2 separate regions of the Homo sapiens genome follow, and region 1 is linked to region 2. The links are contacts of gene promoters, found by promoter capture Hi-C in human tissues and cell types (Jung and others, 2019). All regions are on one chromosome and are shown on one strand. The core of a region is centred on a gene start or on the middle of the fragment in contact, and the rest is flanking DNA. Distances in the headings are between cores, read along the strand shown.

The links. Contacts are between HindIII fragments. The study calls those that stand out against the background at their distance.
Region 1: a fragment that was not itself captured here is called in contact with the fragment with the promoter of ABCG5 in region 2 in 1 of the 25 tissues and cell types used here (liver).

Annotation. Positions count from the first base shown.
Region 1 is chr2:43,799,590-43,804,253 of GRCh38, reverse strand. It overlaps DYNC2LI1 (dynein cytoplasmic 2 light intermediate chain 1), which reads right to left. Exons shown (of 13, transcript NM_016008.4): 9 at 3,337-3,413; 10 at 2,545-2,615. Among named protein-coding and RNA genes, the nearest start is that of DYNC2LI1, 28 kb to the right of the region's middle. The HindIII fragment of the contact is 9,891 bases long and covers 1-4,664 here.
Region 2 is chr2:43,835,531-43,840,546 of GRCh38, reverse strand. It overlaps ABCG5 (ATP binding cassette subfamily G member 5), which reads left to right and starts at 1,708. Exons shown (of 13, transcript NM_022436.3): 1 at 1,708-2,010; 2 at 2,592-2,713. The coding sequence starts at 1,868. It overlaps ABCG8 (ATP binding cassette subfamily G member 8), which reads right to left and starts at 1,576. Exons shown (of 13, transcript NM_022437.3): 1 at 1,431-1,576. The coding sequence starts at 1,493. The HindIII fragment of the contact is 5,779 bases long and covers 1-3,390 here.

The DNA of each region.
Region 1 (4,664 bases), core at 647-3,146, 36 kb after region 2:
AAATATTCATCAGTGGTGAACAGTGCATTAATTACTATGCATAGCCATGCTCTGTAACACTATCCAACAGTTAAAATAAGAAATAGACCCACATACAGCATTAATATGGAAAAACTACTAAGGTATATTGGTATATTGAATTAAAAGGTACTGAATAATAGGGTATATTGAATAAAAAGGGGAAATTCCAAAATGATATAGACTGAACACATAATTACATTAAAGCAAATAGTTTTTTTACACTATATACACATGTGTGTAAAGGCATAGGAAATTGGAAAGAACACAAATTTGCTCCTTGTATGTACTCTTTTACCTTTTTACAAGGAGATATCTTTATGTGTTACTTGTATAATTTAATTTGAAAAATTTAAAACTTTGCTGCCATTTGCAATTTGTAACTGGATATTTCCCATCTTTCTATTTCCAACAACTGTATTGTTCCCCAAAACTGTTTTACTGGTGATCTTCCAGGACATCCTTACCACTTTGGTGCGAAAGCCATTGATACGCTCCACTGATGTTATTCAGCTTTGCCAAGTTTTACTTGTATTCCTTTGTGTGTCTGTGTGTATATTAAGTTCTATACAATTTTATCACCTGCATAGGTTCATGTATTTGCTACCACAGTCGAGACACCAACTTAATTCCACTAGCACAAAGATCCTGTGTTGCCGTTTTATAGACATAACCTCCTCCTTCCCGACCCCTCCCCTGGTCTCCCCATCCATAGTTCTATCCCTGCCCTCTGACCACCACTAATCTGCCTCCATTTCTAAAATGTTTTTCATTTCAAAATTTTTTATAAATAGAATCACACTGTATGTAATCTTTTCTAATTGGCTGCTTTTCACTCAGCATGATTCCCTGGAGATTCATCCAGTCTGTGTGTATCAATTATTTGTTCCTTTGTATGACTGAGTAGTGTTTCCTGGTACAGATGTACCACAGTTGTTTAGTCACTCACCTGCTGAACAACTTCTGGGCTGTTTCTAGGTTTTGACTACTAAACATAAAGCTGCCATGAACATATGCCTAGAGATTTTTTGTGTGAGAGTTAAGTTTTCATTTATCTTGGATAAATGCCCAACAGCACAATTTCTAGGTCATATGGTAGTTGCATGTTTAGTTTCGTAAGAAACTGTTAAACTGTTTTCTAGAGTGGCTGTACCATTTTACACTCCCACCACCAATGTATGAGAGATCTGGTTTCTCTGCATCCTTGCCAGTATTTGGTGGTGTCACTATTTTTTATTTTAGCTATCCTGTTAAATGTATAGTGATATTTCATTGTGGTTTCAATTTGCATTTCCCTAACAACTAATGATATTAAACACCTTTTCATGTGCTGCTTTGCTATGTTTATGTCCTCTCTGAAATGAAATGTCTGCTTATGTCTTTTGCCCACTTTCTAATTGGATTATTTATTTTTCTGTTGAGTTTATATATTCTAAACACTAGTCCTTTGTCATATATGTGGTTTGAAATTCTTTTCTCCCACACTATGGCACGTCTATTCATCTTCACATGGGCTTTCATAGAGCAAAAGTTTTTAATTCCGATGAGATCTAGGCGCCATGATTTTTAAATTCAGCAATTATGAACTCTCTTCTGGCCTCCAACTATTCATAGAAGCAAAAGAATTCCATCAGCATTATCTATCAGTACAACAGTGATTCTCACTGCTACTGGAATTAAGTTGGTGCTAATTATAATCATAAACATCAGTCTCCATGACCATTCACTAAGCAAAATCACCTCCATTCCTTTCATTCCAATTAATCTATAATCTCATTACAAAGATTTCTATATTTGAAGTCAAGTCACCTTTAGCTTGTAAGACTAACAGAGGATGGGAAATACAAAAAAAAAAAAAAAACCCTACTGCCCATTAGAGTTTTAAAAGCAAACTACGCCACCTGCAGAGGATAAAGAAGTGCGAGGCTCAAAGATCTTCACAATGAAAACAGTTTCTGTGGGAAGGTAAGGGCCTTGAGATATAAACTCTTAAACTTCCTTTTGATTCAGAAGCCTATAGAGTCTATGAGTTTAGGAAATACATTCCATTAGATGAGGCATGCTATTTCATAACAAAAAATCAAATCATACCTAATTGTTACAACTGTGTTCTTTTTGGTTTACTCTACCACTTCAGTCTCTCATATACTTGCTAATTGCCTGTAATATGTAGCTTTGAATTTCCTCACTACTCTATGCTCCTAGCTTCTTTAAAGCCAAGGAGCTAAAATTTAAAAGTACCTGGAAATCAGTTGGGGAAAGAAAATACTTGCAATTTGTTTTTCAGTGGAATAGAGATCAGAAATGAAAAATCAGTCTCTTATGTGGTGACATCACTTCCATCACAAACATGTCAATGTGATGCATGTTACATTAATACTGGGCATATAAACAAACACACAGGAAATAACAGCAATGATAATGAAACCAGAAATAGGAGTATGTTGGAGACAAAGTGAACATGGAGTAGGACAAAATCAATAAGCAATTAAAAAAAGATTGAACAATCTTAATAAGTTCACTAACCTATTTGACCGAAAGAATCCAATCCTGCTGTGATAAACAGCGGTTTATTCTGATCCACACATATTGATTTGCTACGTGGAGAAGAGAAAGATTCTAAATTAGTTTAGCAATTAGATTTGCTGCCACGCTCTCCTGTAAATATGACAGCAATATTATCGGCTAGTTTTACATTTAGCCACTAATGAGAGCATTGCCCCGAATGAATGAGTGACTATCAATTTAAGTGATTTCAAAAATTAACATATAGCATAAATAAACATTTTATAGGAAAAAAAGTGACAGACCCTATTACCTTAAATCAAAACCAAGAGAAGTAGCAAGGCTAAGAAGATACATACCAAAATTTTCAATTCCATTTCAAATCAGTAAAAGAAAGTGATAGTAGAGGGAAGCTACTGAAGTGTGGGAAAGGAAGTAAAAGAAATCAGGGAGCTAGTATAATATTATCATTATTTTATTCCAGCCTCAAACTAAATGTTATGTAACATTTTGGTTGTAAAATTTAAGAAATATTTAAAGAATATAAGAAGCAGGAAATAATATGAAATTATCCCCTTTATGTTGAGTCTTGACAAAATAAATAATAATATTAATAATTAAAAATAATAATAAAATAAATAATAAAATAAATAAAATAATAATAATTTAAAAAGAAATTATCCCTTTAAGAAAAGCCATCTGGGTCACTTTCCTGGTCAAGACACAAGAGACTGAGTAGAACAATAATCAGATGAGACAACATTGGCTAAATCAATCACTCAATAAATGATATAAAAAATATCTTAGCAGTACCTTTTGTCAATGCCAAATGCCAACTGGTTGATAACTCCACGTATTTTTAGTAATAGAGCTTCTGATTTACTGGTAAACTTTAAACAAATCAGGAGAACAAATTACATGCTCTATTTTCCAATCACAGAAACAGGTAAAATAAATATGGCTTTGAACAAATACAGATTACAAAGAGAATCACTGTTTTGTTGCCCAGCAAATACTTCTGTTTGAGTAGACAAAACAAAACCTGAATAAAGAAATCTTGGTAACTTTAACTCGTTCTTCAAACTTAATGAGTACATGATGTGGAAAGGACTTGTGTTTATGTACTCATCATTTCAGCTACTCACACAAATGGACCATAATCACTGTCAAATAATTTCTTTAAAATATATATATATGAATGTATGTTTATGGGCTGTATGTGTGTAAACATACTCATTATGGTCTAAAAGAAAATTTTCCAAAATGCAGTTGGGTTGGTTAGAAAATAAGAGGTATACCTCAAAAGTAGCTTTCACATCCAAGGGCGTATTGCTGCCTTCCAAAGAGTCACTGTGGGACTGCAGACTGGTCTAATGATGCTGATACTCACTAAGGTAATTTTTTAACTTCTTTTTAAATTGCTTTTGGTGCCTAAGCTACTGAATATTTTCAGTGCTGGTATATAACTAGGGAAACCAGAACCAGAACATTTCAGAGAATGAAAGGGGTTGGGTACTATTAATAATTAAGCTGTGACATCAGATGAATACCAGGACATATGGTTACCCTACAGATCTTTAAAAGCTAGATTGGATTTCTGTAGATACCAAAAGTCATTCACAGCCAAGTCAAAATGACTAAGAGGTATGGAAGTGGGAAAAACAACTTTGAACTGAAATGAAATCTAATTGTGAAGCAAAGGTATCAGCGTTATGGTTCCAATGGTAATTCCACAAGATAAGCCTCATTCTGGATTAAGAACAGAAAGTTCTTAATGCTCTCAGAGAAAGTATTCAAATGAGAATACTCATGTATATGTAAGATCTGACACATTTATTAAAGAAAGCATTGAAATAATTGTAATGCTTCTACTGAGACCATGTTTTAAAATACATACAGAAAACTTTAACTGAATTTTAGAAATATAACTGCTCTGTTTAATTTTATTTTCTTTATGAGAAAGGAAAAACCTAATCACAAACATATTTCATAGAAGATAGGGCTGGGAGAACATTAGATGTTTTCTAACCCAACTCCTCCATCTGCTGCATCAATCACTTCTAAAACATCCTTCACAAAGAACTGTAGGCCTTCTGCTTAAACAAACTCAATGCCTGGAAACTCATCTCCCCAAATAATTC
Region 2 (5,016 bases), core at 459-2,958:
AAGACCCACAGGTGTTACGGGCAGACCGTCACTCAGCACCTGGAGTGACAGGATCGGACAGAAGGGAAGCAGAAATGGCAGGGCCTGCGTGCATTTCTGGTGTGGTCCTAGCATTTCTTTGCCTCTCAAGCTGTGGTGGCTGAATCGTCAGCCCTCCCAGGCAGGAAGTGTTCCCAAAGTCCCGCTGACTTTCTATTCTATTCAGGCTTTAAACATTTCCCGAAGTGGTGGGCCCCACAGGGTATTCAGAGAGCAGAGCTGGTCAGATGTGGTGGTTGCAGAACTGACTAGAAATGGTGGGCTCCTTGGGTCTGGCCGAGTCAAGTCCTGGAAACTCAAGGCCAGTCCAGGTTGTTTTCCCCATTGGGTGTGGAATCCTCGATCATGCTTGTCTTTCTCTCCTCCCTCCTACCCACAACAGGCAAAGATGGAAAGGTAGGATGGGGTGAGGTGGTGGGAGTGGGGATCTGCTTCTCGCTTGTCTTCCAGTTTAGCCTCCTGCTTCAAATCCTGCCACATCCCGAATTCAGTCAAAGGCTATTTCTTGAGTAAACACTTCTCAGGTAAAATGAGGAAGGAAACATACCTCCACCTCCTGCCACCTGGCTGCTTCTACTCCTTCCAGCTTTCTCGCAGAACTTACGATTGCCTGTTAGAGCCACACATGCTGATGTTCCCACAAAAGCCGTCTGTCACCCTGTCTCACCCATCACTTCATTACTGAGACCAACCTGACAGCCACATGGATGGAGGAGACACCAGTGGAGTCCCTGGCATGTGTGAGCACATTTCTATGATGGAGTCTCATTCGGAAAAAGCGAAACTGGCCAGGCACGGTGGCTCATGCCTGTAATCCCAGCACTTTGGGAGGCCGAGGAGGGTGGGTAACCTGAGGTCAGGAGTTTGAGCCTGACCAACATGGTGAAACACTGTCTCTACTAAAAAATACAAAATTTGCCAGGTGTGGTGGCAGGTGCCTGTAATCTCAGCTACTTGGGAGGCTGAGGCAGGAGAATCACTTGAACCTAGGAGGCAGAGCTTGCAGTGAGCCGAGATCACGCCACTGCACTCCAGCCTGGGCAACAGAGCGAGACTCCGTCTCAAAAAAAAAAAAAAAAAAAAAAAAAAAAAAAAAAAAAAAAAGAGAAGAAAAGAAAAAAGAAAAAGTGAAATTGTCCCACATCACACAAAAGAACATCATTTCCCTAAAAGAGCATTTCTTAGGGCAGGAAGTGACCTCAGAGGCCTCTGGGACCCTGAATCTGTTCCCCTCCGCCCTTTGACATGCAGGAAACAGTCCTGCGGCCATGTCCTCACACTGCTTGATGTCCGGGTGGTGCTAGGACAGAAGGCTCCTGAGGGAAGAGAGAAAGGTTTGATTTCTCCTACCCGCCCACCAGGCCTGGGCCGACTTCCCATTGCTCACTCACCGAGGTATCCTGGGGAGTGGCCCCTTTCGGCAGCCCTCTCTCCTCTGCCGCCTTCCCGGCCATGGGGCCCACAGGTCTGTGACCCTGGGCTGCAGCTCTCTTAGACCCAGCTGCTGCCTGCCAGGGCCAGTGTCTTCACTCTGTTTCCTGGAGCAGGGACACCTCGGCCTCCTGCCCTGGGCCCGTCTCTCCCAGCATTCCTTGCTGGCAAGCCCACCTACAAACGTGTGTGTTCTGCCCACTGTCAAGATAAGGACGCGCTGGCTAAAGGTACATCAGATAATGGTCTCCGTGGCCAAGTCCCAGTCCTGCTGTCCCAAGGGACTCCGGGGTCAGGTGGAGCAGGCAGGGCAGTCTGCCACGGGCTCCCCAACTGAAGCCACTCTGGGGAGGGTCCGGCCACCAGAAAATTTGCCCAGCTTTGCTGCCTGTTGGCCATGGGTGACCTCTCATCTTTGACCCCCGGAGGGTCCATGGGTCTCCAAGTAAACAGAGGCTCCCAGAGCTCCCTGGAGGGGGCTCCTGCCACCGCCCCGGAGCCTCACAGCCTGGGCATCCTCCATGCCTCCTACAGCGTCAGGTAAGGCAGAGCCCTTGCTGCTGCTGCTCCCCCAGGAGTGCGGGGCCCGGCGCTCACCCCTCTGCTGCCTTTCTTCACTCTTTAAGTGCCAGTCTGGGCACTTCGGGCTCCCTCTTTAGTGGATCGGGTGGAGAGAGGAGAGGGAGAAGGGCTGTGCTGGGAAACATGGAGCGACAGTGAATGGCCCCTCCCCCTGCCCAGGGAAGGGCCTGGGCATAAACAAAGTGGCAGCAGTGCCCTGCCAACCCAGTGTCTACGGCCTGCCCTCTGTGGATGGGAATGGGGGTACTGCGAATGCAAGGAGTCTTGAAACCTGGTGAAAGAATGCAGGGACAGCCACCTCGCAGCCAAACGGACAGGACATTCAGAGCAACTCCAGCACAGGCCCCCTCCCTACGTGGCAGACAGCCTCAGTCGCTATCTGCCAGGTTCTACAGAGGAGGGCGCAGAGACTGAAACACGTTAGGAGCCTGTCCGGAGACTACTGGGGTGGGGCACAGGTAGGATCAATGCTGGGGACCTGGGTGTGGCCCCTTCCAGGGCCCCAAGCTGCCTTTGCCTTCCTGGGGTTTCCTTTAAAGCCACCGCGTGAGGCCCTGGTGGGACATCACATCTTGCCGGCAGCAGTGGACCAGGCAGATCCTCAAAGATGTCTCCTTGTACGTGGAGAGCGGGCAGATCATGTGCATCCTAGGAAGCTCAGGTAAGCTTGGGAAGGAGGATTCTAAAAAGGATTTGGCTTGAGTTAAACTCCACATTGAAGAAACAGATTAAGTTGTAACAAGAAAGCCACAGGTTTGATATTAGAATGAATTCTATTGATATCTGACTGTGAATGGAACTGCTACCAATGTGAAATCTTTAGAAAGATCCTTGAAAGAGTATAAAATTCTGCCTAACATGTACGTGAATTCATATTTCAAAATATAAAAAGCCCCCACAGTTCCATGGCATATAAAAGTACTCAGGAAACACAATTTCCCCTATCTGTACACTGCCTAGAGACAGGAAAAGGATTAAATAAGCACAAAAATGCCCATTAAGCCCCTATCTTTGATTCCAGTGGTGCTTTTTTATGATGGTATATTTTGGACATACAATCAAGAATAGAGAATAGGCTGGTCACAGTGGCTTATGACTGTAATCCCAGCAGCTTGAGAGGCTGAGGTGAGAGGATTGCTTGAGCCCAGGAGTTCGAGAGCAACCTAAGCAACATAGTGGGACCCCATCTCTACAAAAACATACAAAAGTTAGCCAGGCATGGTGGTGCATGTCTGCGGTCCCAGCTACTTGGGAGGCTGAGGTGGGAGGATTGCTTGAGCCCAGGAGATTAAGACTTCAGTGAGCTGAGATAGTGCCACTGCACTCTAGCCTGGGCAACAGAGCAAGACCCTGTCTCAAAAAAAAAAAAAAAAAGACTGGAGAATAATATTTAAAAGTTCATGTATTAACATCGGGCCTTATCAGATCTTATCTGGTCGTTTTTCTTTTCTTTTTTTTTCTTTTTTGAGACAGAGTCTCACTCTGTCACTTAGGCTGGAGTGCAGTGGTGCGATCTTGGCTCACTGCATCCTTAACCTCCTGAGCTCAAGTGATCCTCCCACCTCAGCTGGGACTACAGGTGCACACCACCATGTCCGGCTAATTTATTTTTATTTTTATCTTTTTTTGTAGAGACAGCGTTCTTGCTATGTTTCCCAGACTCTTTTTCTTTTTTAAGGAATTAAACATTACAAATTGCACTGAGGTCATCCACTGCCCGTTCTCCACATCATCCTTCTCCTCCTCTTTCCCAGGGTAGCTGCATTTGAGCCTACAGTCGGTGTTTGTGCCCCTGCATCAGCCAGTCATTGCCCCAGAGAGTCTAGCCTTTGGTGAGACAGCTCCTTGTGGCCGAGGGCAATTCCCTGGGAGGGTCCCTGTGGTGAATCTTCTGCAGCTGACGTTCTCAGCAGCTGGGGGATGGCTGCATTGGCCCTGAAGAGGGGTTCTGTGTGGCACACCACAGTGTCTGCTACACTGGATTACCATCTACATTTTAAGGTTAAAAGCTTCTGACAAATTGGCTCCACAGAAGCCTCTTGATTGAGCTATTGCTTGCAAATTGTTGACATTCACTGCCACTCTCTACTTGTGTTATTCTCTTCAATGGAGATGGGGACTCCATTGAAGTCTATGACCAAATGTAGGCATGGTCAGCCTCCTTAGACTCAGGGAATTGAATCCATGGCTATTCACCTGCTACAGCAGGTGCACAACCAGATGCCAACAGTAGTGTTGTTAAGAGGAATTCCCAGGCCGGGCACGGTGGCTCATGCTTGTAATCCCAGCACTTTGGGAGGCAGAGGCGGGCGGATCACTTGAGGTCAGGAATTCGAGACCAGCCTGGCTAACATGGCAAAACCCGTCTCTACTAAAAATGCAAAAAAAAAATTAGCCAGGCCTGGTGGCAGGTGCCTGTAATCCCAGCTACTCGGGAGGCTGAGGCAGGAGAATCCCTTGAACCTGGGAGGTGGAGGTTGTAGTGAGCCAAGATTGTGCCACTGCACTCTAGCCTGGGCAGCAGTGAGACTCCATCTTAAAAAAAAAAAAGAAGAGGAATTCCCAGACTGTCTCAGTCCACTCAGGCTGCTACAACAAAATACCATAGACTGGGTGGCTTATAAAAAGCAGAAATTTTTTTCTCACAGTTCTAGGGGCTGGGAAGTCCGAGATCAAGGGGGTCAACAGATTCAGTGTCTGGTGAGGGAGACTTCCTCCTAGACAGCCATTTTCTCACCCTAACCTTGCATGGCAGAAGTGGGGAGGGGTCTCTGAGGCATTCATCTGAATTGTAAGAGCTCTCCATAACCTAATCATCTCCCAATATCACCTCCTTGCATGCCCCACCTCGTAATATCATAATCTTGGGTGTGAAGATTTCAACATATGAATTTTAGGGAGACATAAACATTGAGACTATAGCACTGACTAAAGCTGTTACACTTTTCAAAGACTTTGTCAGTT